Linked DNA regions of Homo sapiens: regions 2, 3, 4, 5, 6 and 7 are each linked to region 1. Evidence: promoter capture Hi-C in 16 types of primary human blood cells and fetal thymus (Javierre and others, 2016). All regions are on one chromosome and are shown on one strand. The core of a region is centred on a gene start or on the middle of the fragment in contact, and the rest is flanking DNA. Distances in the headings are between cores, read along the strand shown.

Region 1 (3,607 bases), core at 812-3,311:
ATGTAATGATGATGCAACACAACCGTTCTCCTTGTGTGCATTGTAAAACGGAAAGTTGGCTGGAATATTCTGCCTAATGCTACATGTTCACGTCAATCTGGGACTGTAAAATTTTCCAGACACCAGAGCCCCACAGATTGTAGACTCCACCAATTTCCTGACTCCTATGTGGTTGAATTCCAGGTTCACCTAGTTACAAAACCAGCCCTTCTTCCATGTTATTTCAAAACACGTTTCTGGTGTTGATGCTAATTCTGCATCCCAGGAGAGAGCTATGTATGGATGACATAACTTATTTCTAAAAGAAACCTAGTCCGTGTGCTCAAAACTTATTTTACTAGGAAACAAGGAATGTATCAGCGAGTATCTGCAACTTTCTCTACTGGTCTTCTAAGGTTGATGTCTTTATATTTCATCTTAACAAAAAAGAAGCAGAAATAATAATACTAAAAAAAGAGGAAGCAAAAGGAGAAGAGGAAGAAAAAAAGAATTAGACACGAGGTAACATTATAAAAACAACCTTAAAATGCCCAGATAAACGTAACTCTAATAGGAGACTGAATGAATGGACTTTGTGGGAAAAACAGTAGTAAACTTTAAAGCCACTGAAAGGTTTTAAATGCCTAAGGGAAAAATAAACATTTGCTTCCAATCATTTTCTCATTAAGCATTCTCTGCTAGATGGAGAAGGCTTACTACACACACACACACACACACACACACACACACACACTCTTTGACTCCGCGCCACAAACGGGGACTTAACCCACTGCCCGATCTCTGTCAGAGGCGACCCATTTGCGCTTCTGCTATCGCACCTCCGCCCGCGTTCCTGCGCCCCAGGTTCCCCGCTGCCTCCCCGCCCCCTGCAGCGCGGGAGCGTTGCTTCGCCTGGCCTGCTGGCCTCCTCTAGACCTTGGCCACCTTCTCCGTGGCAGGAAGGGCTACATGCACTGACAGATTTTCCGTTGGTGGTGGCTGGGTGGTGGCGAGGCGTGTTTCCGGGCGCGCTTAAAACCTAGCAGCTCTCTCCAAGTAGCAGCTTCCCCTACTCCGCCCCTAGGACTGAGGACCTAGCCCTCGATGCCCCCTCACTTCTCCCCGTCCTACCCCGCCATCACCTCCTAACCTCTCCAGTATACTCTCAAGCCTCACACGGGCGCCTGTCCTCCCTTTGCATTCCCTAGCTCCCGGGCGCCCCGTTCGGTTGAAGTTTACGTATCTTGGGACCTAATTGCTCCCAATTATCCGCGCAGCCTAAGTCCCGCGTCTGCCTGGCTCTCGCCCCGGGAGCCTGAAGCTACCGGGCAGTTCATTGGGTGTCCTCGGGGAAAAGGTTCAAGCTGTAGAGATGAGAGAAGTGGGGCTGGGGGAGGGGAGAGGCTCCAGAAGGAAGACCACGAACACGTGCGAAGAAATAAAAGCCACCACGTGTGCACGCGCGCGGGGGCCCAAGGGCGCGAGCGCGGAGCACGCCCCAGGGGGCCAGGGACAGTGGTCCCCTGCAGCGGGCATAGCAGGGGGCGCGGGTACTCACACGAAAGCGTGGTAGATGAACGCCCAGCCGCGGGGTCTCTCCAGCACGTTGTACAGGTAGTTCTGCACCCGCCGGTACTTGACGTTGCGCCGGCAGCTCTGGCTACTCGTGTAAGAGAGCGGCTTCCCCAGCAGGCTCATCCGGGCCCCCTGCTTGCCCCGGCGGCTCTCCCTCAGGCCACCGCCGCCGCCACCGAGCGTGGCCGCGCGGGTGCCCAGCAGTAGCAGGCCGTCGCCCCTGGCGGCTGCCGAGTTCAGCAGCACCCTGCCCCGGCCGGACTCCACATCCTTCATGCCGCTGCCCAAGCGCCCCCCGCCCGCCGCCGCCGCCGCTGCGCCGCTCTTCACCCAGAGCCCGGCGGCGCCGCCCTCCTCTCCTCCCGCGTGGTGGCGGGGCATGGCATCACCACGGGCACCGCGAGGGGGCCGCCAGCGCCTGCGGCGGGGGCAGCGGCCTCATGTGCGCCGGCGGGTTTCAAGGAGGAAGCCGGCGGCCGACGGGGCGCCCGCCAGCCAGAGACCTCTGAGCCGGGGGCGGGGAAGCAGGCAGCCAGCAAACCGCCCGGGCTTCGGGGCGGGAAAGGAGGGGCTGCAGAGGAGGCCGAGGAGTCCCAATTTCTAACAGCCTTTAGCTTCGAATTCTAAATCCGGACCTGTTTGGGGCGTCACTTTGAGAGGGTTTCTCTTGCTCCCTCATTCCCGCGACTACCACTCCCTCCTTCCCAAACTGCCCCCGGGGATAGAGTGGGGGAGTGCGGGGCGCTCCGAGGCGCGCTCCCACGCGCGCACACCCAGCCCCAGGCTTCCCCTTCCCTCTCTCCACTCCCCACGCCCTGCAGCGAAACGGCCCCAGAAGCCCCTCTCCGAGGCGCGAGTTCGGTTTGGTTCTGGCAGGGGCTTTGCAGCTGTCCGGAAGGTGAAGTCAGCCTTGTGTCCTGAGGAGAAACTGGAGATGCAGGTCGCTGTGCCCTCCCGCTGCTACGTCGCTGCGCCGGATCCTGCCATCCTTCCGCAAGGGGTGAGAGCGGGAACAGCCCTGCCCTGCCTTCCAGGTATTATCTAGCCTGGAGGCTGGAGCGCAAGGTAACGCTCCGGGAAGTGGCACTCGGGTCCCCGCACACGGGCGAGTCCTCAGCAGTTCAGTGGACAGACCCGCAGGACGCGGCTGCCAAGTCCGCGAGGCAAGGACCAGGCATCTTCCCGCGCCTCACTCCAGCCTGCGGACTGTGACTTTCCATCCCAGTATCAGACAAGCTCGCGAGTAACTGAACATCCTTTCCAGTCCATGGGTGGGGTGTGGAAAGGGCGTAAAACTCCAAAGTGGCTCCTCCGCGGTGAGCGAGCTGCCCCGGGGCTCTGCCTGACTGCAGCGCGAAGCCTGGGAGAACAAACCCAGTTCCCTCCGTCAAGAAATTTCCATTTAAGTCCGAGAAAGTCATATGATTGAGAAGTTCAGCAGCGGCGGCGAGGACCCAGTGTCTGGGAAAGAACACCTGGAGGATGGGGTGTCCAGGACGCCGGCTTTTCGGGGTTCCGACCCCACCCACCTTATGTTGTAACATACAAGCTTAGAGACCTGTTGCAAGGAACAACTGACTGGGTCTTCCACCACCCCTGGCACCCGGGTGGCCCAAAGCCTATGCGCCCTTGGCGGAGAGAGAGGCCACGGTGCCACTGGCCGCAGCCTCTGGCCTTCAGAAACAGTGTATTACAAAGAAAAGGCAGTTTAAATCTCACATTCAGCATAGGGAAAACTGAAGGGTGCCAGGCTCGGGGACTTCTTCCAACAGAGTGGCTCTTCCCCAAATATGAAAGAAAATCATCAAATTAAATTGAAGGCAAAACTAAGCTTCCACCACAAAGACATAGCAGATAGTTGCAAGGTGGATTCCTTCGGGCCTTTTCCTTTCCTAAGGCTAAAACAATGCTAAGACAAAAGTCTTCTTGCAGCTGTCTCCGCCCCTCCGAGATAAATACTTTCCCAATTCTCCCCCACCCTGTACACACACCCACGCCCGCGGCAGCTGATTTCTGTCTTCTGCAATAGCTCGATTTAAATGCTTTGCTTTTA
Region 2 (3,607 bases), core at 764-3,263, 490 kb before region 1:
ACAGGGTTTCACTATGTTGGCCAGGCTGATCTTGAACTCCTCACCTCAGGTGATCTGCCACCTCGGCCTCCCAAAGTGCTGGGATTACAGGCATGAGCCACCATGCCTGGCAGACCAATTCATTTAAATGGGCCACATCCCTAGTACATAACACATCAGTCATGATTGTGAAATCCATAATGAAGAAAATGTGATCTAACAATATTCCTTTTCCTGAGAATATCATTGAATAAATGTATGCTAAATAAAAGTTAAAAATTCACACAACTACTTGGGAAAACTGGAAGTTTCTATGAAAGCTGAACATTTAAGTATCCTATGATACAACTACACACTCCTAGGTATATTTTCAAAATATATGCTTATATATGTTCATTAAAAGATATGTACTATATGTTGGTTTCTAATAAACTAAAGCTGGAAATTCCAAAATACCCAGAAACAGTAGAATAAACAGAAAATTTGTGACACCATTTACATAGTACAATACTATATGGCAATAGTACATATAGCTACACACAACAACATGGATGAACTTCATGTGAATAACGTTGAGTGAGAAAAAGAAGACACCAAGGAGTACATTTCCATAACGTACAAAAACCAGGGAAAACTATTCTACGCTGTTAGAAGGTAGCACAGTGGTTATCCTTATGGGATAGTGATTGCGAAGGGGTACACAGGAGGTCCTGCTCTGTTTATCTGAGTGCTGGTTATGCAGGTGTGCTCAGTTCTCCTAAGATATGTGCTCTTTTCTGCATGCACATTGTACTTCAATGAAATTTCAGAAAGTGACATAAAAAAACTAGAAAAATATAGTGGTAGAAACTGAGGGACTTTTTATATTTTTGAGGAAGGTTTAAATGATTGAACCAAAGTTCCTTGCCTTCATTACATGGCTCATGCTGATTTAATCTACAAATCTGTGGAAATTTGTGCTAAGTATCTTGACATCTTATATAATGCAACTATTGTTGCATCATCTTGAAATGTTAATCTTTGCAAATATTATACCTGCACAATTTATAGAGTGATTTAGAATAATTAAGGAAAACACATGGATTTAGGATTGCAGCTTCTTCTGTAGTAGTGATGCCCAGAGATCCTCTAATGTTGTGATGACACAGACGGCTGCCTTAATTAAACAATTTCCATAGAAGATGTCACACATATATGATTTTTGATACATTGAAAGCAAGACTCCTGTAGAACTAGAAGCATATGGCAGGTCTGCACATTATTAGATACCAGTGAAAAAATCCAAAACAACAGAACAACAAAAGAATGGGACCAAGGCATTGCCTGTGAATGTTATAAAGAACTGGGGGCAAAAGAGGCCACTCTGAGAAAATTAAAGATTTTCTTTACAATGAGACCTGATGTCTTGCTATTTTTCTCTCAAATTGATCCCAACAGCTAAGCTCTTGTTCCCTTCATTACTCATCTCCCAAAAATGCCTTTTAAATGAGAGGTATGGAAGGTGCAGGTGGCATCTGTCACATGGCTGATATTAGTTAACAGTAAAAATGAAGGTGGAAAGTGGAACTCTATGCCCGTTACACTCTAATAACTTTATTTTGTTCTTAGGTCTCTCTTAGCAAATTGTTTCTAGTAGCTGAACTTTGAACCCACATCCCTGTGATCCAGTAGCTGATGTTCCTATATTTAAAGCCAAAATCACACAGTAGTTGGCAAGAGAAAAATAACACTTAGAGGGATTTCCTATGGTTAATTTACATGGTGTATACAATTCAAAGGACAAATCAACAAGAAGCAAAATGAGAGCCAACTTTGCCATTTATCAGGTGATGCTGGTGCTCTAGGCAGTCAAAGAGATTTGGACTTTGCTCAATAAGTACAAGGCCAGTATAATTCAGTTTTTTTGGGAGTATTTTGTTTGTCTTGCAAGTATTACCATTATGGCATGTTTGATCCTTACTGGAAATGGTTTAGAAGGTTTCAGCTGACCATCCAAAGGAATAATGAACACAGAGCTTATTTTTTCAAGGTACAGAGTTTAAAATGTGAAAGTCCTGAAAGTTTTAGGCTATGAACCAGCAATCCCTTTCCACATCTTTCTTCACACTACTTTCTGTTCCTCAGAGGCAACCCCTTCAATTCTTATAGTTGTTGCTTCTATTTTTAAGAATCCTTATTTATTATTATTATTATTTTTGAGACAGGGTCATACTCTATCACCCAGGCTGGAGTGCAGTGGTACAATTATAGCTCACAGCAGCTTCAAACTCCCAGGCTCAACCAATCCTCTGGCTTCAGCCTCCTGAGTAGCTACAGGTGTGTGAGGACTACAGGTGTGTGCCATTGCACTTGACTTTTTAAAATTTTTTTGTAGAGGTGGGGTCTCGCTATGTTGCACAGGTTGGTCTTGAACTCCTGGCCTCAAGTGATCCTCCCACCTTAGCCTCTCAAAGTGCGGGGGTTGCAGGCATGAGCCACTTGCGTCCAGCCAAGAATGCTTATTTTTAAGGATTATGCTTATAGTTATATTTCTTGATTTTTCAATTTTAGACATTATCAATTAACTTCCTATCCTGAACGATAATGATATTGCCCACTTACATGCCCTCTTCCCCTCCTTTCATCCTATCAACATTTTAATATCACAATTCTTAGCTAAGTTACTATTTAATATTATTATGACAATGTAACTGCTGTTCCCAGTTCAGCAATGTGATGTACTATGGCTGCTCTTTCTTTCTTATACAAGTTTTTGGTTTTTTTGGAGTTATAATTGCCCTATTTTAATTTCTTGATTTGCATATATGTACCTGTTATGATTACATTCCAGATCTTTCCAACAGAACTATAAAATTCCTCTGGTCAAATGCATCATGAAATCTGAGAACTCCATTCTTTCGCTTCCTTGAAGATCTTTCTCCTGGAGCTCTCAGCCTCCTTCTCATTCTGTTCTCAAGGCCTGCATAGCTGTTGTCTTGGGACTTCCCTTCCCTATTATCATAGAAATCCCCTTTGCTCTTTCCTGTGCGGAATCTCTTGTTTTCTTGACTCCATGTCTCTTTCTCTCTTGGCTTATCCCCTTGTTGTGGAAGAGAAGTTCTATTTACAAAGTTTCTTGAGTAAAGGTAAATGGTAGATTAATTTTTGAGATCTTGCATGCCTAAAAGTGCCTTGGTGCTGCTCTCACACTTGATGGTGGTTTGGCTGGATATAGAGTTCTAGGTTGAAAATAATTTCTATAATTTCGAAAGTATTGTTTCATTGTCTTCTAATTTTTGGATTACTAATGAGAAATCCTATGTCATCCTTATTCTTGTTCCTTTGGCTCTGTCCTGCTCAGAAAGCATTTAGGATCCCCTTTTGGTAAGTTTTCTGATATTTTACTGTGATAATCTTGGTGTGAAGTTTTTGGTTCACAGTGCTGGACACTTGGTGAGCTCTTCTACTGTGGCCACTCCTGTCCTCCTGTTCTGGAGAATCATAATGTTGTATTTCTTTGATAAAATCTTCCTCTTAGTTTCCCTGCACTTGAGCTGAGACATCTTTATTAGCTGGATATTGGAATGCCTGGATGGACACTTCATGTTTCTTATCTTTTTTGCTTTATTTTCAATCTCTGTTTATTCTA
Region 3 (3,607 bases), core at 566-3,065, 450 kb before region 1:
ATGTTTCTGTCCTTTGGATAGTGCTTTGAACTGGTTTTAACATCTTACTGGTTTCTTCATTAATAATGACTTAAACTTTTAAAATGAGTTAAATGAATGTTTAGCATGTGTTAATTTTCTTTCTATGTAAGAATCATGATTTTACTTTATTTATTTGGAAAATTATTCTTTAATAATATAAAGAAAAAGTAGGTTTTGAGAGGAAAGTTTTGAAATTAGGTGACTATAATCTCTGATCTCACAGATGGTTACCAGTCTTCTTTTTCATTTCTTTGTGCTGCAATTTTATTCACAGCTTCCATTCATTTTTTAACCCCAGATAAACTTTTGAAGAGCGGAAAATCAATGCAACAATTGATCATTTAAATTTGTGCTCCACAAAGTTAAAACAAATAAACAAACTATCAATGTTTTAATCACCATTTTAAAAATGATATATATTTATATATTTTATATATTTTTAATTTTGGCAACAATCTAGCACTCAAGAAATATTAATGATGGTTTACAAGACAACTTAGTTGGCCTAAAAAGATGTGGAAAGCCTTTAGACAATAATAAGTAGTATTTATTTTCCATATAACTCTCTTTCGCAATTTAATATTTTTATTGAAACCATCCATAGGAACCATTACGTTGTATTAAAAAAAAACAATTCACAACATCCAATAAATAAAAAATGTATTTTTATACTTACTGTGCCCCACCAGAGAGCATCTGCATATGTAGAAAACTCTTTATTGGCATCCTTTTCCACCAGATAGACAAGGAAAGACGAAAAAATAAGAACCAAAAATCCTATGTACCAAGCTGTGATTAATTCCTAGATATAAAAGGAATGAAAGATTTTTAGAGGTGGGAAATCTTTGAAAAAGGAAAAAAGAATTCTATGAGGATTCTATTCACTTTACTACTTCTTGGATGTTTATGATGGCTCTTAAATAATCCATTGTACATCATGTCCCAAAATTGTTTTAACCATTTTCTGCAATGACTAAGTTTTCTTGTGACAGGTTTATTAACTATTACAGCGATCAATGAAAAAGTTTCAAAAATTGTGTTTTTAAATTCAGAGAGCAAATCTTACCTTGCTGTGAGCATAAACCACTGAACCCAGTAATTTCCAAGTGCCTCCCCTTCGGTCCATGCGCACCATGCGGAGGATCTGTAGGAAACGGAGACTTCTGAGTGCAGACGTGGCAAAAATATTACCCTGAGTTTTTGCAGAAACAACTGCTATTGAAGCGATAAGAACAATGGTATCTGAAAGAAACAGGTCGAAATAGCCACAGTTAGCACGACCAGGAATTTTTATTTACCAAAACAATATTTCCAAAAGGTTCACTTTGACCTATTTAAGGTACAGATAAACAGATCTTGATTCCCAGCTGCACCTAGTGCCACTTGGCCTCTGTGGCATTTCCGAAGACTGAAGAATGAAAAGGCAGAGAATGGGACCTACCTATTGCTGTAGTTCTGACCCTTTGGCCATTCTGCGCTTTACCTATGCAATTTTGAACAACGTATTATTTAACCTTCAACAGATTGGACAATGGTGTTCAAAAAACCCAAGGTTTCAGGGAGCCTTAAGACTTTGGGGCAACCTTTCACAATGTCTCTCGTTTCATCCTTTTTCCTGTGGCAAAAGGATCTCCTGCCTCAGCCCTCAACACCACAGCTTCTGGGTGATGTGACAGAGGCATGTAAATGTGTCCAGCTTGAAAGTGCTGTGAGATATAATCATTTCTCTTGTTTTCCTGCCAAATAAGTTTGCATTTCCTTTCCCCCAAAATTCCCTAATGTGGCACCTGCAACTTTGCATATTGTTTAACAAAGGCCTCAGCTAAGCTGAATACTCTATGCTTCCTGTATAGAGTATTCTTTAGACCTGTTCACCAATTATGTGTAAGTTTGCTGCATAATTAAATAATATTACATTTGTTATAATAGGGTATGTAAGTATAAACACTGTGCATTGCAAGGGAATGAATACTTAATGTTTGACATATTGACATTAGGCTGAAAAAATCTGCCTTTTCTAAGCAAAAAAGAGAAAAAGAGCATCTGATGAAAGCATAGAAAAGATAAAAGAAAACTTAATCACTCCATAAGTAAACATCTGAGTGATGGGAAGTAGGCTTTGAAGTGGGATAAGTGAAGTGGGGATGAATGGCCTCCTGTGGCAATTTTAATAAAAGTTAGCTTGACTTTAACATCCTCAAATACAATTTCCTTCCTGCTCCAAGTGGGTTGTGCATGACTGGGCTTCCACACTCCAAAGAGGAGTTCCATTTCAAGGATGTCACATTTGTAATGTTTCTGTCATCCTCTGGATTAACTGCTGTATAAGTGAGTATTCCTCATTCAGCTCATCCTTCTCCCTGCACTGAGAAAGGTCTGGTCTCCTGGTGTGGACTGAGAAGATCTTCTGAGCCTCTCTGCTGGTGCCCCTTTTTGGGTCAGTGCTTTGAGAGAGAGGGGGGGTCAGTTGTTGGCAGTGCAAGTTTCAGCCAAAGGGCTTCTTCCCCTCTCCTCTCCTTTCTTCCCTCTTTCCATCCTTTGACAGGGTCTCACTCTATCACCCAGGCTGGAGTGCACTGGCATGAGCTCTGCTCACTGCAACCTCTGTGTCCCACCTCAGCCTCCCAAGGAGCTAGGACTACAGGCATGCACCAACACGCCTGGCTAATTTTTGTATTTTTTTGTAGAGATGGGGTATTGCTATGTTGCCCAGGCTGGTCTCGAACTCCTGAGCTCACATCATCTGCCAGCCTTGGCCTCCCAAAGAGTTGAGATTACAGGTGTGAGCCACCGGTGTCCGCCCTGAAGGACTTTTTCCACCAGCTCTAAATGCATGTGCTTTTGTGGGTAAGTACCCAGAGAGCCAAAGAGAGTTACCACTCTTGGCAGCTGTTGGAAACAAGAAGGAACTAAATGTGTTGACACTGACACCAAAGACATATTTTAAGTGAATAAAGGCCAGTTGCAAAACAGTATGTACAATGTGATTTTATTTTAATAGAAATATATATTAGTATATGACTAGGAAAAAAATTTGAGACTAGGCTGGGCGCAGTGGCTCACACTTGTAATCCCAGCACTTTGGGAGGCCAAGGTGGGCGGATCATGAGGTCAGGAGATCGAGACCATCCTGGCCAACATGGTGAAACCCTGTCTCTACTAAAAATACAAAAATTAGCTGGGTGTGGTGGCACGTGCCTGTAATCCCAGCTACTTGGAAGGCTGAGGCATGAGAATCCCTTGAACCCAGGAGGCGGAGGTTGCAGTGAGCCAAGATCGTGCCACTGCACTCCAGCCTAGCGACAGAGCAAGACTGCGTCTCAAAAAAAAAAAAAAAAGTGAGACTATACGCTGATTATTACTATTAATTATTTCTAAAGGGAGTGAGCTGAAGTGAATATATGCATAAAGGGGCTTTTCACTTTGTAAATTATTAATTTCTGTATGTTGGAAGTTTATAACAACGACTATGTCTTTGCAATTAAAAAAACTTTATAAAAAGAGTTATGTGCAAACACATCTCTTGGTTTTCATCATGTTGAGGGATTTACTCCTGAGACTAGTGGTTTACAAACAGACATTACTT
Region 4 (3,607 bases), core at 812-3,311, 430 kb before region 1:
GTGCCTGTTTGCTGGCCTTCACTTCTTGGCTTTGCCCTGGGCAGCCACAACTTCCATGGCTTTGCACATGGTCTCTTCATCCCCTAGGAACTGCGTGGGCTGGGCTTGATGGGCTTCAAGTTCTTGTCCAATTCATAGACAATGAGAATGCCAGTTGGCAGGTTCAGCTCCATGATAGCCTCTTCAGAGAGACCCTTCAGATGCTTGTCAGTGCCCCAGAGGCTGTTGCCATGGGCTGCAGTCAGTACCCATTTCCCCTCCTTGATCTGGGGAAATACTTCTTCATTCCAGAAGGGCAGAGCTCTGGCAATAGTGTCCTTCAGACTCTCACAGGAGGGTAGGTGATTTTCTGTGAGGTCTGCATACCTGTGATCCTTACTGATGTTGCTGTAGAAAGGATGGTAGGGCTCCATCGGAGGTGGTGGGACATCATAGGAGCACCTGCAGATCTTCACCTGGGCTTCACTATGTTTTGCAGCAGTTTCTGCTTTATTGAGACCGGCTAGAGCCCCATAGTGCTGCTCATTGAGGCGCCAAGTCCTCACTATTGGCAGCTACATCTGATCAATGGCATCTAGCACTGTCCAGAAGGTCGGGATCGCTCTCTTCTGCAATGAGGTGAAGCAGATGTCAAACTCATAGCCAGCATCTCGCCGTGCCTGCTTTGCCGCCTCATGGCCCGCTGGGCTCAGGATGGCGTCGTACCAGCCGCTGAAGTGGTTCTCCAGGTTCCACTCACTCTCGCTGTGCTGGATCTGCACCAGTTTGTAGGTGGCCATGGTGGCAGGCTTGGGGGATAGCATTCTTGATTTGGCTCTCAGCTTGGATGTTGTTGGTGCACAGGGATTCTACTGATTTTTGTACATTGACTTTGTATCCTGAAGCTTTGCTGAAGTTGTTTATCAAACCAAGGAGCTTTGGAGCAGAGATTATGGGGTTTTCTGGGCATAGAATCATACTGACTGGAATCAGGGACAGTTTGACTTCCCCTCTATTCAGATGGCTTTTATATCTTTCTCTTGCCTGATTGCTCTGGCCAGGACTTCCAGTACTATGTTGAAAAGGACTGGTGAGAGAGGACATCCTTGTTTTGTTCTGGTGTTTAATAAGAATGCTTCCAGCTTTTGCTCATTCACTGTGATGTTGGCTGTGAGTTTCTTATAGATGGCTCTTATTATTTTGAAGTATGTTCCTTCAGTGCCTAGTTTGTTGAGGGTTTTTAACGTGAAGGGATGTTGAACTTTATCAAAAGCCTTTTCTGCATTTATTGAGATGATCATGTGGTTTTTGTTTTTAATTCTGTTTATGTGATGAATCACATTTATTCATTTGTATATGTTGAACCAAACTTGTGTCCCAGGGACGAAGCCTCCTTGATAGTGGTGGATTAGCTTTTTCATGTGCTGCTGGATTCATTTCACTAGGATTTTATTGAGAATTTTTGCATCTATGTTCATCAAGGATTTGGCCTGAAGTTTTGTTTTTTGTTGTTGTTGTGTCCCTGCCAGGTTTTGGTATCAGGATGATGCTGGTTTCATAGTTAGGGAGGAGTCCCTCCTCCTCTGTTTTTTGGAATAGTTTCAGTAGGAATGGTACCAGCTCTTCTTTATACTTCTTGTAATATTCAGCTGTGAATCCCTCTGGTCCCGGGCTTTTTCTGGTTGGTAGGCTTTTTATTACTGATTCAATTTTGGAACTCATTATTGGTCTCTGTCCAGGATTCAATTTCTTCCTGGTTCAATCTTGGAAGGTTGTATGTTTCAAGGAATTTATCCATTTCTTCTAGGTTTTCTAGTTTGTGTGCATAGAGGTGTTTTTAGTAGTCTCTGAGGGTTTTTTAAATTTTTGTGGGGTAGGTGGTAACATCCCTTTGTCATTTCTGATTGTGTTTATTTTGATCTCTCTTTTTTTCCTTATTAGTCTAGCTAGCATTTTATCTATCTTATTTATTCTTTCGAAGAACCAAGTCCTGGATTCATTGATCTTCTGTATGTTTTTTTGCGTCTCAATTTCCTTCAGTTTAGTGCAGATTTTGATTTCTTGTGTTCTACTAGCTTTGGGGTCGATCTGCTCTTGTTTCTCTATTTCCTCTAGGTGTGATGTTCGGTTGTTAACTTAAGATCTTTCTAACTTTTTGATGTAGGCATTCAGCTCTATAAACTTCCCTCTTAATATTGCTTTAGCTGTGTCCCAGAGATTCTGGTATGTAGTATCTTTGTTCTAATTAGTTTCAAATAATTTCTGAATTTCTACCTTAATTTCATTGTTTACCCAAAAGTCATTCAGAAGCAGGTTAATTTCCATTAATTTCTATTTTTATTGCACTGTAGTCTGAGAGTGTGGTTGGTATGATTTTTTTTTATTTGCTAAGGATTGTTTTATGGCTGATTAGTCAATTTTAGATTATGGGCCATGTGCAGATGAGAAGAATATATACACTCCTGTTTTTGGGTGGAGATTTCTGTAGATGTCTATTAGGTCTATTTAGTCAAGTGTCAAATTCAGGTCCTGAATTTCTTTGTTAGTTTTCTGCCTCAATGACCTGTCTAATACTGCCAGTGGGATGTTAAAGTCTCCCACTATTATTGTGTGGTTATCTAAATCTCTTTGTGGGTGTCTAAAAACTTGCTCTATGAATTTGGGTGCTCCTGTTTTGGATGCATATCTATTTAGGATAGTTAAGTCTGGCCTTTTGAGGTGAACCCTTTACCATTATGTAATGCCTTTCTTTATCTTTTTTGATTTTTGTTGGTTTAAAGTCTGTTTTGTTTGAATGTAGAATAGCAACTCCTGCTTTTTTCTGTTTTCCATTTGCTTGGTAGATTTTTCTCCATCCCTTTAGTTTGATCCTATGTGTGTCACTGCATGTGAAATGGGTCTATTCAAGACAGCATACTGTTGGGTCTTGCTTCTTTGTCCAACTTGCCACTCTGTGCCTTTTAATTGGGCATTTAGCCCATTTACATTTAAGGTTAATATTGATATGTGTGGATTTGAAGGATCAAATCCTGTTTTGTGTTGTTAATTGGTTATTATGCAGATCTGTTTGTGTGGTTGCTTTTTGGCATCAATGGTGTGTGTACTTAAGCACGTTTTTGTAGTTGCCAGTAATAATCTTTCCTTTCCATATTTAACACTCTCTTTAGGACCTCTTATAAGGCAGGTCTGATGGTAATGAATTCCCTTAGCATTTGCTCGCCTGAAAAGAATCTTATTTCTCCTTCATTTATGAAGCTTAGTTTGGCTGGATATGAAATTCTTGTTTGGAATTTCTTTTCTTTAATAATGCTGAATATAGGTCCTCAATCTCTGCTGGCTTATAGAGTTTCTGCTGAAAGGTGTGCTGTTAGCCTGATGGGGTTTCCTTGGGAGGTGGCCTGCCCCTTCTCTTTAGCTGCTGTTAACATTTTTTGTTTTGTTTTGACCTTAGAGAATCTGACAAGTATGTGTCTTGGGGATGGTTATCTGTATAGTATCTCACAAGGGTTCTCTGCATTTTCTCAATTTGAATGTTGGCCTCTCTAGTGAAGTTGGGGGAATTTTCATGGATGATATCCTGAAATATGTTCTCCAAGTTGCTTGCTTTCTCTCCCTCTCTTTCAGGGAC
Region 5 (3,607 bases), core at 488-2,987, 410 kb before region 1:
AGAATGGAGTGCAGTGGTGCGATCTCGGCTCACTGCAAGCTCCACCTCCCTGGTTAATGCCATTCGCCTGCCTCAGCCTCCCGAGTAGCTGGGACTACAGGCGCCCACCACCACGCCCAGCTAATTTTTTGCATTTTTAGTAGAGACGTGGTTTCACCGTGTTAGCCAGGATGGTCTTGATCTCCTGACCTCGTGATCTGCCTGCCTCGGCCTCCCAAAGTGCTGGGATTACAGGAGTGAGCCACCGTGCCCGGCCGGAACTGTCCAATATCTTGATTGTTGTTTTAGATATACTAATCTCTGCAAGTGATAAAACTGTACAGAGCCAATACACACACACACACACACACACACACACACACACACACACACACAAATGTATTCAAGTAAAACTGGAGAAATCTGAATGAGATTTGTGAGCTGTATCAATATTATTATCCTGGTTGTGATATTATACTATAGTTTTACAAAATGTTACATTTTGCGGAAATTGGGTAAAGTATACACAGGGTATGTCTACTATATCTTACAACTGCATGTGAATCTACAATTATCTCAATAACAATTTAAATTTAAAAAAGCCATTGCCAGCAATCTAGACAATGGGATAGACTCGTAAGAGGAAATGTGTTCTTCAAATCCAGATGCTGGGTCTATTTTCACTGTGTTTTGTTTAGAGGTACTCTCTAAATCACCCTTTGGATGAGGTCTCATTGTTTTATTTTCATATGAGTTGAAAATACAAAAATCTGTTACATTCAGTCGAGATGATTTAAATTAGGGATGGTTCTTCTGACCCTTGCTGGGTAAGCCATGAGACAAGTTCTGGTGCCTTTGCTGCTGTACCTCAGGATAAAGCAGTTCATTTTCTCTTGCTTGGTTTTAGTTGAAATAAAATGCTCGCTATTTACTGAAATGGCAGCTAAAGAGATTAGTGAATAATATTCAGAATATTTGACTTGTTTGGAGGAAAGCTGTAGTGGAAACTTGATGTTATTAACAATGGTCCTGTCCTTCCTTATTTAAGCCCCTAGAAGCTTGGCTTGGATAACTCTTTACAAAAGCAAAGACAATAAATGTGTATTATTTTTATCACTCACCTTGTAGGAGTTACAATGGTTCCTCATTTGTCCTCACAGAATTTTGGTAAAACATAGAAGAATTTTCTTATTCTTCTTAAATGATAAGGAAATTAAGAAGCCTAAGAGGCAGTGGTGGCCGGGCGCGGTGGTTCACACCTGTAATCCCAGCGCTTTCGGAAGCCGAGGCGGGTGGGTCACGAGGTCAGGAGATCGAGACCATCCTGGCTAATAAGGTGAAACCCCGTCTCTACTAAAAATACAAAAAATTAGCTGGGTGTGGTGGCGGGCGCCTGTAGTCCCAGCTACTCAGGAGGCTGAGGCAGGAGAATGGCGTGAACCCGGGAGGCGGAGCTTGCAGTGAGCCGAGATCATGCCACTGCACTCCAGCTTGGGCAACAGAGCGAGATACTGTCTCAAAAAAAAAAAAAAAAAAAAAAAAGAAAAGAGGCAGTGGTAGAGCTAGTCTTGAATTTTATCTACAATATGTATTGAGAATACCAATCCATATTAACCCTCTTTTCCAGGCATTAAAGAAGCCTCTTCATATGTCACACCTGAGAACTGTGATTCAATTTAATTGATACATATAACTCTGCTGTACCATTTGAGGTTTAAATTATGTTCTTGCCGTTATTTTGTTTTTTAGCTACTTAAAATTGTTTTAGGCAGATTGATTTTTTGGGTACAAATTCACAATGCTTAAAAGCTCATGTACCAGTTGTTTTCTCATTAATTAACAGCACTGTTCATTAAAACACAGTGACCTTTGTCTAATCTACAAGCTGTCTTCTGTGACCATTAGTTTTTTCTGGTTTTATGCCATCAAATAGCATTTTCGTGAAGATGAAATGCCGACATTATAAACCCTGTGACATTTGCAGCAATTCTTGAAGAGCTGTGGCTAATTAGACATACATAATTAGAACTATTGCTTTTATTCAGAATATCAACATAATCAATTCCCAGCTGTTTTTGTTCCTTTTTGTGTGTGTGCATATACTTAAAGTAACATAGGGCTAGCAGGTCAACATGCCTCTTTACATAATCCCTGCAGGGAAAGAATTTGTGATGTAAACTGCATCATAAAATGCAAAAAAAAGGCATCAGTCAGAAGAGTTGCAGTTATAATTCTATGTAATTTGGAAAATTCTACTAGTATAACACATATTAGGGGAATGAAATTAAGATCTAGAGATGGCTCCAAACTTAAACCAAAATGTGGAAATACACAAAAGTAAATATCTTCCGGAATTGTGTCTCTTTGGAGAGCAGAAAAATATCCTAAAAACATGCTTACTAACTATAACTTATAGAACATCACATACCATCATCAATCCAGCTAGCTTTCAAGCTTCTCCTTACTTTTTGGGAAGGTATATTAGTGTATTGGAAGAGAATTTGAGGGAATGAATGTTTTTACCAAAGGGACTAATTTGACCTGGTGTTGAGGACACATGGATATTTACAGAATCATTGCTGCACAGAGGTGGTTGTGAGAGCGTGACAGAACTTCACTAAGTTGGCTAGTAGATGCTTCGGGGGTGGGTATGGGGGGAAGGGGGTCATAGAAGTGGGAGTGGGGTGGAGATAGGGGAAATTAGATTAAGGTGTGAAGGGGTATGGATGCTTCCTGCCTTGGAAAAAAATGACTGAGGTAGTTTTGACAGACAGTGTCACTGCGGCTAGTCTCATTGATTGGAAGGCTTAGGTAGATATGATAGATGAATTTGTTTGAGTAGCTCCAGCAAAATCTAGTGTCTTAGTGGGTCTTTCCCCTTGGGATTAGTTGATTCCTGAAATTTCTTTATAAATGATTTATCCATTCAAGTTTTTCACACCTGTTAATATATAAATCTGCTCCTGAAAAGTAATTCATTTAACCATACCTAAATAACAATGTTCATTTATCCCAGAGGTTCTTCAGAAGATCATAGGGAGGCAATAGTTTGAAAATGCCCCATTCCAAATGACTGATTGACACTTTGTTACTAAGGAAGGATCACGGCTGGTTTTTTATCAGGTATTGAGGCCATAAATTGAGACCATATGGGCTGGAGGCAGGAAGTGGGTGCCCCCTGCTTGGGGAAAAGAGGTGGGAACAGCAGGACATTCCTGGTTTACCCCTCGCTGCCTACCTGGAGTGGCCCTATGCATCCCAGTTACTAGTTGGGATGCCATGATGAGAGGACTTCCGTCCTCTCTTGTAGTGATTTTAGATCCTTAGGGATGGGTTGGCTCTTGTCAGCAGCTATAATGCCTGCCTAGTATGAGCAGCCACCCAGATGATCCCTTCTGCCTTTACGTTTTATGTTCTGTAAGTCACATCTGCATCAGGGCACAGGATGTCTTAGGCTTTCCCCTTCACCTGCCACAGGTGAAGTCTGCCCATGGGACCAAGCTGAAGTGGTGCCCTTTGTGGAGGAGCCTTACTGAGGTTTTTTTTGTTGTCCATCCTCCCCCATCCTAAACCTATTTATACCTTAATTGGTTTGAGGTTTCTATTTGGGTGTGTCTGCATGCCCAAA
Region 6 (3,607 bases), core at 437-2,936, 390 kb before region 1:
TTTACAGTTCAACTGGTGCCTCATTTTCTCCACTTCTCCCAACCCTGGCTTACCCTCCTTCAGTTGCTCATCTTCTTGCCCTTCCTTGTCTCACCAGGTATGCTCCTGTCTAAAGCTTATGTCCTTGAAGCTCTATCTGCCTGGCATTTTCTTTTCCCTAATCTTTGCATGCCTCATCGCCTCATTCCATTCAAGTCTCTGCCACCCATTTCAGTGGACTTCTCTAAACATACTATCTAAACTTTCCTTCATTACCTATTCCTTTTTCTTGCTTTCCTTTTATTTGTAATATCTAATATATTGATTTTCCTGTTTGTTTATTCTAGGTCTTCCACAAAAACATTAGCTCCATGAGAACAGAGATTTTGGCTGTTTTGTTCATTGCTATCTCCTCAGCTCTTAAAAAAGAATGCCTCATCCTTATTGGGTACTGCATACATCTTGTTGAATAAATGAATAATGGAGAAGATACAATGTCAAGTAGACAGGACTGAGGAAAGTTAGAGGAAAGAAAGTTTATTTCAGGAAGGAGGAGGTATTTGGTCCAGGTTTCAAATGATGGAAATGATCACAGCATGGAAAGATAGTAAGGGAAGGGTGTTTTTCCTTCTACTGACAAACATTTTGACTTATTTTCCAGTAACCCTGTAAAATTTATCATACTACCTTGTTTCTCTTTCTCTCTCCATCAGATATACTTTTGTGAAGCTCAAAAGGGCATAAGAGCTAAACATCAGTGTGGACCTGGTTGAATATGGCTCATTTATAGCTCTAAGGATGTCTGCTGGGTAGCCTGTCAAGTCTTGAAACAAAGTTGTACAGAGTTTGGTAGCATAGCCTGGACCACTTGGTTAGACATCAATGTTTGCATAAAAATATGGAAAATTCTTTCCTTCCTTAATTGTAGATAGAGGCATGGTCTTTTTCAGGCACAATCATTATCTTTAGCTTCAAAAATTCTTTCCTCTAATATCTGAAATACTTTTTATGGGGCAACTTACTATGTTATTATCCTTCTGTTAAGGTTCAGTGTAGGTGTTTAACTATTCCTGCTTTTTTCTTTTCAGTCATCGGCAGATTGATGAGGGTCGTTAGTCTCTGTGAATCATTTTAGAGTTTATTTGCATTTTTCCTTGATGAAAGAAAAGCAAAGGAAAATAACTGCAGTTTTCAATGTTCATTGGGATATTCTGAGAGCTTTCTGCAGTAAATTATAGGGATGTGATAAATCTAAAGAAGCATTGCTCATTCCTCACATCTGATTGCTTCATATCTCATACTGCGTTACTGCCTTTACAAACATAAGATTTAATATCCTCGAATGGATTCTTATCCTTACACTCTGTTATCCTCTCTTACAATATTTAATACCAGAAGTTTTAAATGTAAAGACTACTGTCATCTCATTCTGTATCAAACCCTTACAATTTCATGTGCAAACCTTTCTACTTTGCAAGGACCAGTAAATGTGCTTGTGGCTGATTTTTCCCTCCCCCGTTAATACTGGTATATAGGAAGTGGCAATGATGTCTCTAATTCTTCAATACCATGTTATATATATATAGTGAATATTTATATAGCAATTAAAAATGCATGTGCCCGCATTAAAAAGAAAACAAACATGTAACAAATTATGTAGCTGTTATTACCTTTCCAAGGGGATGCTTCACTTTACAAAAGAATTCCCTATAGATTTTCTTTAAATAGTAAGCTCCACTAGTACATTTAAGATATAATTAGACCTGCCTAAATTGAGTTTGTACACAATTCAGGAGCAGAGTCACTGTGCAGGGAAACAATAAACCCATGTTTACTTTGCTACCTGAAGCATAAGGAGAAAATATGCATATGTAGAAGCTGTCAAACATCTGGATGTTTGGGAAAGCCTGGATAGAGTACTCATCCAGATGCTGAGCACGATCCATTTGTAGTTTGGAGTCTTTCTAACACAGCAGGAGGGTACAGGAGCAAATATACTGAGACAGGCTCTGTCTTGCTAAAATTGATAGTGGCATTCCTTTTACTGCTTATGGGTGGGCACTTTTAGAAATGATAACCTGCAATAAGAATTTTGCAAATAATATGCATCACTTTCATCAAATGGAGTTCTCTTTTCTCAACATGATGGACAATTTTCATCTAAAAACTTAAAATAAATACTTTAAAATTAATCTGGATGGCAAGAAGTTCTTTAACAGAGAGGAAATGCACTCCAGACAGTATTGTTCTCAAAAAGGTGGGAAATACAATGCTAAAACCTACAACCTTTGGCTAATGAAATCAAAACAAACCAAACAAAACTTACCACAATAGTCTAACCTGGAAATAGGAGAACTCACTTCAACAGCATGATACTCACCTGAGCAAAGTGAACTGGGGCTAGAAGATGAACTTTTACACTTGACTATTTACCCCATGAATCAGGCTCTTGAATATTTGCAAAACAGAATTTAGAATTCTCAGTACAAAGAACTTCTAGTGGTCTGAATTGATATACCCATTTGTGATAACTTGGTAAGTGGAACTCTTTATGAAAGCACAGCATCCTAAGTAAAAGTGTTGTAAGCCTTATTTGGCATATATGGAACAAAAAGAAGCCTTAGACATGAGCACTTCATTGGGTACTGGCAAATGCATTTTGGTAGACTTGTCAGCCTTGAAAGAAGCAAGAGAATGAGAGGCAGCGGGATGCTCTGAAGACAGCCCAGTCTTTTCCTCAGCCAGGCCTAAGCTGGAATCTTGGCTATTTTACACTTGGTGTGTTATCTTGCACAACTTATTTAGCTATTTGTGAAAATGGGAGGGGATACTTACATTGCCAGTTTTATTTTTCTAGTAAGAAATCAATGAGCCTAATAAATGAAGGGTACTTAAAAAATGCTGGCTCCCTTTCATTTTTGATGGAATCACCAAATATAGGAAATTAACACCAGCTTTTAACTGTCCCTGGAATGTGGACACACAGTTTCATACACGTTCTTGAGTTCACAAATTTTATCACCAGGGTGATGGCAGAGCAAGCAAGTCCATCAGATCTGGAGTTATTCCTGCCCAATGTTTCACTCAGTAGATGCAGACATCGAGAGAAGAGATATAAAGCCACAAGCACTGTCATCAGACGTATTTACTAAAATGCTTCAACAATTGAAATCAGTTTCATTAGCCACCAGAAATAAGTGGCTATTGTGAACACATGCTGCATGCCGAATGTGTACCACTGAGTCACTTTTAGAGAACATGTTTATGTAGCAAGCTTCCATAATTAACAGTGATTGCGGTGAGAAAACTCTTACACAGATACTTGTTTTCTATTATAAAATATAATATTTCCTTAAGTGTAGCATTTTCAAATGTTCCACAGTTCACCTGTACTTGTGTCCCTATGAGGTCTCCATTAAACATGGAAGATCCCATGATGATCATATTTGCTATCTTTCCAAGAGTTTTCTTTCTGTTGGGCCCAGTCCTAAGCACTTGAATTTATCTAATTTTCACATCAGCCTTATGAAGTAGGCTATATCATTAACCACTTTTTTTTTGAGTTTTAAATTTCATTTAATTTTTTTTAATTTTTAGTTTTATTTTAAGTTCCGGGGTACACGTGCAG
Region 7 (3,607 bases), core at 526-3,025, 360 kb before region 1:
GACAGGTTTTTGAAGCCACCAGTAAGTTTGAGAAACTTCAGTTTCTGTTCCTCGTTGTCAAAACCAGCAGTATCCCACTGGCCAAACTAGGTTCCCGTCCACTTCCTGGTTTCACAAGCTTCCGTTTTGCCTGACTCTCGATCGATCTCTCCTTGCAAGGCCTTTCGCCTCACCTGGTCTATGTGCGCCTCGTCCATGTTGCCTTTCTTTTCCAACACCACCTCTAAGTCCGTCTCTGTTTCCTCCTTCCAAGGGTCTCTTGCTGCCCCACTCTCTTTCCTCTTGTTCTTTTTCTTCCTTTTCAGAGCCGGCTCCTCAATGATTGGCTGCTCTACCTTCTTGGACTTCATCTTTTTCTTCTCGGGGGCCTTAGGGCCATCTCCTTTGGGGATGGATGTATTCCGGAGCCTCAACTTTGGCTTCGTTTTACTTCCTTTCCTAGGGCTGCTCTCCATGGACCTGAAGGGCTTGGAGTGGCCTGGGAGGGCATCTCCCTCCTGGTGGATTTTTGTTTTCTTCTTCTTCACCTTCCCACTGTGCTCCCTGGGGCTCTTCTGCTTCCGTTATCTGCCCCAAGGCTGCCTGTTCCTCACCCTTCTTCCCCACTGAGCAAGTGTCCGCAGCATCCCCAGCCTCGCAGAACCAAGGGTTCTGGACTGAGAGGGCTGTGGGGTCCTGGGCCCCCTTTGTTTCCTTCTTGTGTTATTTGAGCTTCTTGCCAACTCTGGTTTCCTCTTCACCCTGTCTGGGGTCTGGGGAGGTTTTCACCCCAGAGGCATGGGACATGGCTGGAGGTGACTTCTTCTTTTTCTTCTCCCCACAGAGGAACTCCAAATGGCCAAGCACCTGCTTCCTGGGATTGGGTGACTTCTCTGACCGTCTGGCACGCAGCGTGGTGTCAGGTTCTACGTGCTCCTCACAAAGGGTGCTGACACCCTTCTTTTACTTGTTTTCTTCACTAGAGGCATCTCAGGTGCCTTCCCATGGACCACACTCTTAGAGGGGGATGTGGCTCTTATAGGAGAAACATTGGCAAAGTAATCATCATTGTTTAAAATTGAGTATTGAGTCTCTGGTTCTTTGACCACTTTCTTCTTCTTTTTCTTCTCTGGGAGCCCAGGGCCCAGGTCTGCTTTGTGTTTCTTGGTGATCATTCTGATGGACCAAACTTCCCCACCTCCACATGAGAGCCTGCTCCACTGTGACCCCAATTTCATTCTTTTTTATGACTGTGTAGTATTCCGTGGTGTATATGTTCCACATTTTCTTTCTTTCTTTTGAGATGGAGTCTCACACTGTCACCCAGGCTGGAGTGCAATGGTGCGATCTCGGCTCACTGCAACTTCTGCCTGCTGGGTTCAAGCGATTCTCCTGTCTCAGCCTCCCGAGTAGCTAGGATTACAGGTGCCCACCACAAGGCCCGGCTAATTTTTTGTATTTTTAGTAGAGACGGGCTTTCACCATGTTGGCCAGGCTGGTCTCGAACTCCTGACCTCATGATTCACCTGCCTTGGCCTCCCAAAGTGCTGGGATTACAGGCATGAGCCACCATACCTAGCCTCCACATTTTCTTTATCCGATCCACCATTGATGGGCAGCTAGTTGACTCCATATTTTTGCTGTTGTGAATAGTGCAGCAATGAACACAGGAGTACATATGTCTTTTTGGTGTAATGATCTATTTTCCTTTGGGTATATAGCCAGTAATGGTATTGCTGGGTCAAATGGTAGTTTTCTGCTTTAAGTTCTTTAAGAAATCTCTAAACTGCTTTCCAAAGTAGTTGAACTAATTTACCTTCCCACTAACAGGATATAAGTTGTCCGTTTTCTCCACAGCCTCACCAGCATCTGTTGTTTTTGACTTTTCAATACTAGCCATTCTGACTAGTGTGAGATGAAATATCATTGTGGTTTTCATTTGCATTCTGTGGTGGAAAATCAGGCTTTTTGATGGAAAATTAGGAAGAGGTTAGGATTTTCATAGCTCTGATCTCTTGGTGTTACTGTAACAATACTGACCACCAACAAGTAGGATTATTTCTTTTCTATTCCTGTAATTTAAAAAAGTCCTTTTTGGGGACAGGGGAATGTTGTGGTTTATCTGGTTTTCAGCTCATCTGAAATTACTCTTGATGACTGTGGTTTTTTAAACTGTTAAAAATATGCTGTTAGTTACATGCCTTCCATTTTCTCAATATTTAAAAACACAGAGTAAAAAATCTGAGTTCTTTGGAGAATTTCTGGGTGAACAAGATTGATTTCTTCCTACGTTCTTTCTTGCTTCTCTTTTTTTTGGTGCATGTGTCACAACATATTGCGCTGTCGCCCACACTGGTGTACAGTGGCCAGATCATAGCTCACTGCAGCCTTGAACATCTGGGCTCACGCAATCCTCCTGCTTCAGCCTCCCAAGTATCTAGGACTACCAGCACATGCCACTATGCCAGGTTAATTTAGACAAAAATTTTTGTAGTGACAGTCTCACTTTGTTGCCCAGGCTGGTCTAACTACTGATTTCATGTGATCTTCCTGCATTGCCCTCACAAAGTGCTGGGGTTACAGGTGTGAGCCACTGTGCCTGACTTCTTGCTTTTCTTATAGGCCCTCTCCAGGGCTTCGAATTTCTTGTTTTTACTGTTATTAAAAAAAATTGTTGGGATTGGTTCCAAAATGGCCGAATAGCAACAGCTCTGGTCTGCAGCTCCCAGTGTGATCGACACAGAAGACGGGTGATTTCTGCATTTCCAACTGAGGTACCTGGTTCATCTCACTGGGACCAGTTGGACAGTGGGTGCAGCCCATGGAGGGTGAGCTGAAGCAGGGCGGGGTATTGCCTCACCCAGGAAGCACAAGGGGTGGGGGGATTTCCGTTTCCTAGCCAAGGGAAGCCGTGACAGACTGTACCTGGAAAATCGGGACACTGCCACCCCAATACTAGGCTTTTCCAATGGTCTTAGCAAACAGCAAACCAGGAGAGTATATCCCATGTCTGGCTCGATGGGTCTCACGCCTATGGAGCCTTGCTCACTGCTAGCACAGCAGTCCAAGATCAAACTGTGAGGCGGCAGCCTGGCTGCGGGAGGGGCATCCACCATTGCTGAGGCTTGAGTAGGTAAACAAAGCAGCCTGGAAGCTCAAACTGGGTGGAGCCCACGCAGCTCAACAAGGCCTGCCTGCCTTTGTAGACTCCACCTCTGGGGGCAGGGCATAGCTGAACAAAGGGCAGCAGAAACCACTGCAGATTTAAACGTCCCTGTCTGACAGCTCTGAAGAGAGCAGTGGTTCTCCCAGCATGGTGTTCGAGATCTGAGAATGGACACACTGCCTCCTCAAGTGGGTCCCTGACCCCCATGTAGCCTAACTGGGAGACAGCTCCCAGTAGGGGCCGACTGACACCTCATACAGCCCGATGCCCCTCTGGGACGAAGCTTCCAGAGGAAGGGTCAGGCAGCAATATTTGCTAGTCTGCAATATTTGCTGTTCTGCAGCCTCCACTGGTGACACCCAGGAAAACAGGGTCTGGAGTGGACCGCCAGGAGTGGACCGCCAGCAAACTCCAATAGATCTGCAGCTGAGGGACCTGACTGTTAGAAGGAAAATTAACAAA

The links. The method cuts DNA at HindIII sites, captures the fragments that hold promoters and counts their contacts. A CHiCAGO score of 5 or more calls a contact.
Region 2: a fragment that was not itself captured here is called in contact with the fragment with the promoter of KCNQ5 in region 1 in 17 of 17 cell types (megakaryocytes, M0 macrophages, M2 macrophages and 14 more); the score reaches 21.9 in megakaryocytes.
Region 3: a contact is called between a fragment that was not itself captured here and the fragment with the promoter of KCNQ5 in region 1, in 10 of 17 cell types (M2 macrophages, non-activated CD4 T cells, M1 macrophages and 7 more). The highest score is 9.6, in M2 macrophages.
Region 4: a contact is called between a fragment that was not itself captured here and the fragment with the promoter of KCNQ5 in region 1, in 1 of 17 cell types (M0 macrophages). The highest score is 5.9, in M0 macrophages.
Region 5: a fragment that was not itself captured here is called in contact with the fragment with the promoter of KCNQ5 in region 1 in 4 of 17 cell types (M2 macrophages, M1 macrophages, megakaryocytes and 1 more); the score reaches 8.6 in M2 macrophages.
Region 6: a fragment that was not itself captured here is called in contact with the fragment with the promoter of KCNQ5 in region 1 in 1 of 17 cell types (M2 macrophages); the score reaches 5.2 in M2 macrophages.
Region 7: a contact is called between a fragment that was not itself captured here and the fragment with the promoter of KCNQ5 in region 1, in 1 of 17 cell types (M2 macrophages). The highest score is 6.0, in M2 macrophages.

Annotation. Positions count from the first base shown.
Region 1 is chr6:72,620,518-72,624,124 of GRCh38, reverse strand. It overlaps KCNQ5 (potassium voltage-gated channel subfamily Q member 5), which reads right to left and starts at 2,061. Exons shown (of 14, transcript NM_019842.4): 1 at 1,538-2,061. The coding sequence starts at 1,935. KCNQ5-DT (KCNQ5 divergent transcript) reads left to right here and starts at 1,446. Exons shown (of 3, transcript NR_186827.1): 1 at 1,446-1,593. RefSeq lists silencers at 727-776, 1,807-2,066 and enhancers at 425-1,376, 3,487-3,607. The HindIII fragment of the contact is 6,363 bases long and covers 1-3,105 here.
Region 2 is chr6:73,115,245-73,118,851 of GRCh38, reverse strand. All of the region lies in intron 7 of KCNQ5 (potassium voltage-gated channel subfamily Q member 5), which reads right to left. Among named protein-coding and RNA genes, the nearest start is that of KCNQ5-AS1, 26 kb to the left of the region's middle. The HindIII fragment of the contact is 4,782 bases long and covers 1-3,607 here.
Region 3 is chr6:73,074,978-73,078,584 of GRCh38, reverse strand. KCNQ5 (potassium voltage-gated channel subfamily Q member 5) reads right to left here. Exons shown (of 14, transcript NM_019842.4): 4 at 1,088-1,263; 5 at 698-823. Among named protein-coding and RNA genes, the nearest start is that of KCNQ5-AS1, 67 kb to the left of the region's middle. RefSeq lists an enhancer at 1,582-2,514. The HindIII fragment of the contact is 5,940 bases long and covers 1-3,607 here.
Region 4 is chr6:73,052,269-73,055,875 of GRCh38, reverse strand. The region is part of intron 3 of KCNQ5 (potassium voltage-gated channel subfamily Q member 5); the gene reads right to left. It also overlaps the pseudogene PGAM1P10. Among named protein-coding and RNA genes, the nearest start is that of MIR4282, 86 kb to the right of the region's middle. The HindIII fragment of the contact is 2,350 bases long and covers 887-3,236 here.
Region 5 is chr6:73,032,754-73,036,360 of GRCh38, reverse strand. All of the region lies in intron 2 of KCNQ5 (potassium voltage-gated channel subfamily Q member 5), which reads right to left. Among named protein-coding and RNA genes, the nearest start is that of MIR4282, 67 kb to the right of the region's middle. RefSeq lists an enhancer at 2,963-3,607. The HindIII fragment of the contact is 1,396 bases long and covers 1,040-2,435 here.
Region 6 is chr6:73,012,797-73,016,403 of GRCh38, reverse strand. The region is part of intron 2 of KCNQ5 (potassium voltage-gated channel subfamily Q member 5); the gene reads right to left. Among named protein-coding and RNA genes, the nearest start is that of MIR4282, 47 kb to the right of the region's middle. The HindIII fragment of the contact is 3,138 bases long and covers 118-3,255 here.
Region 7 is chr6:72,983,902-72,987,508 of GRCh38, reverse strand. All of the region lies in intron 1 of KCNQ5 (potassium voltage-gated channel subfamily Q member 5), which reads right to left. All of the region lies in intron 2 of LOC105377855 (a long non-coding RNA gene), which reads left to right. It also overlaps the pseudogene KNOP1P4. Among named protein-coding and RNA genes, the nearest start is that of MIR4282, 18 kb to the right of the region's middle. The HindIII fragment of the contact is 3,310 bases long and covers 121-3,430 here.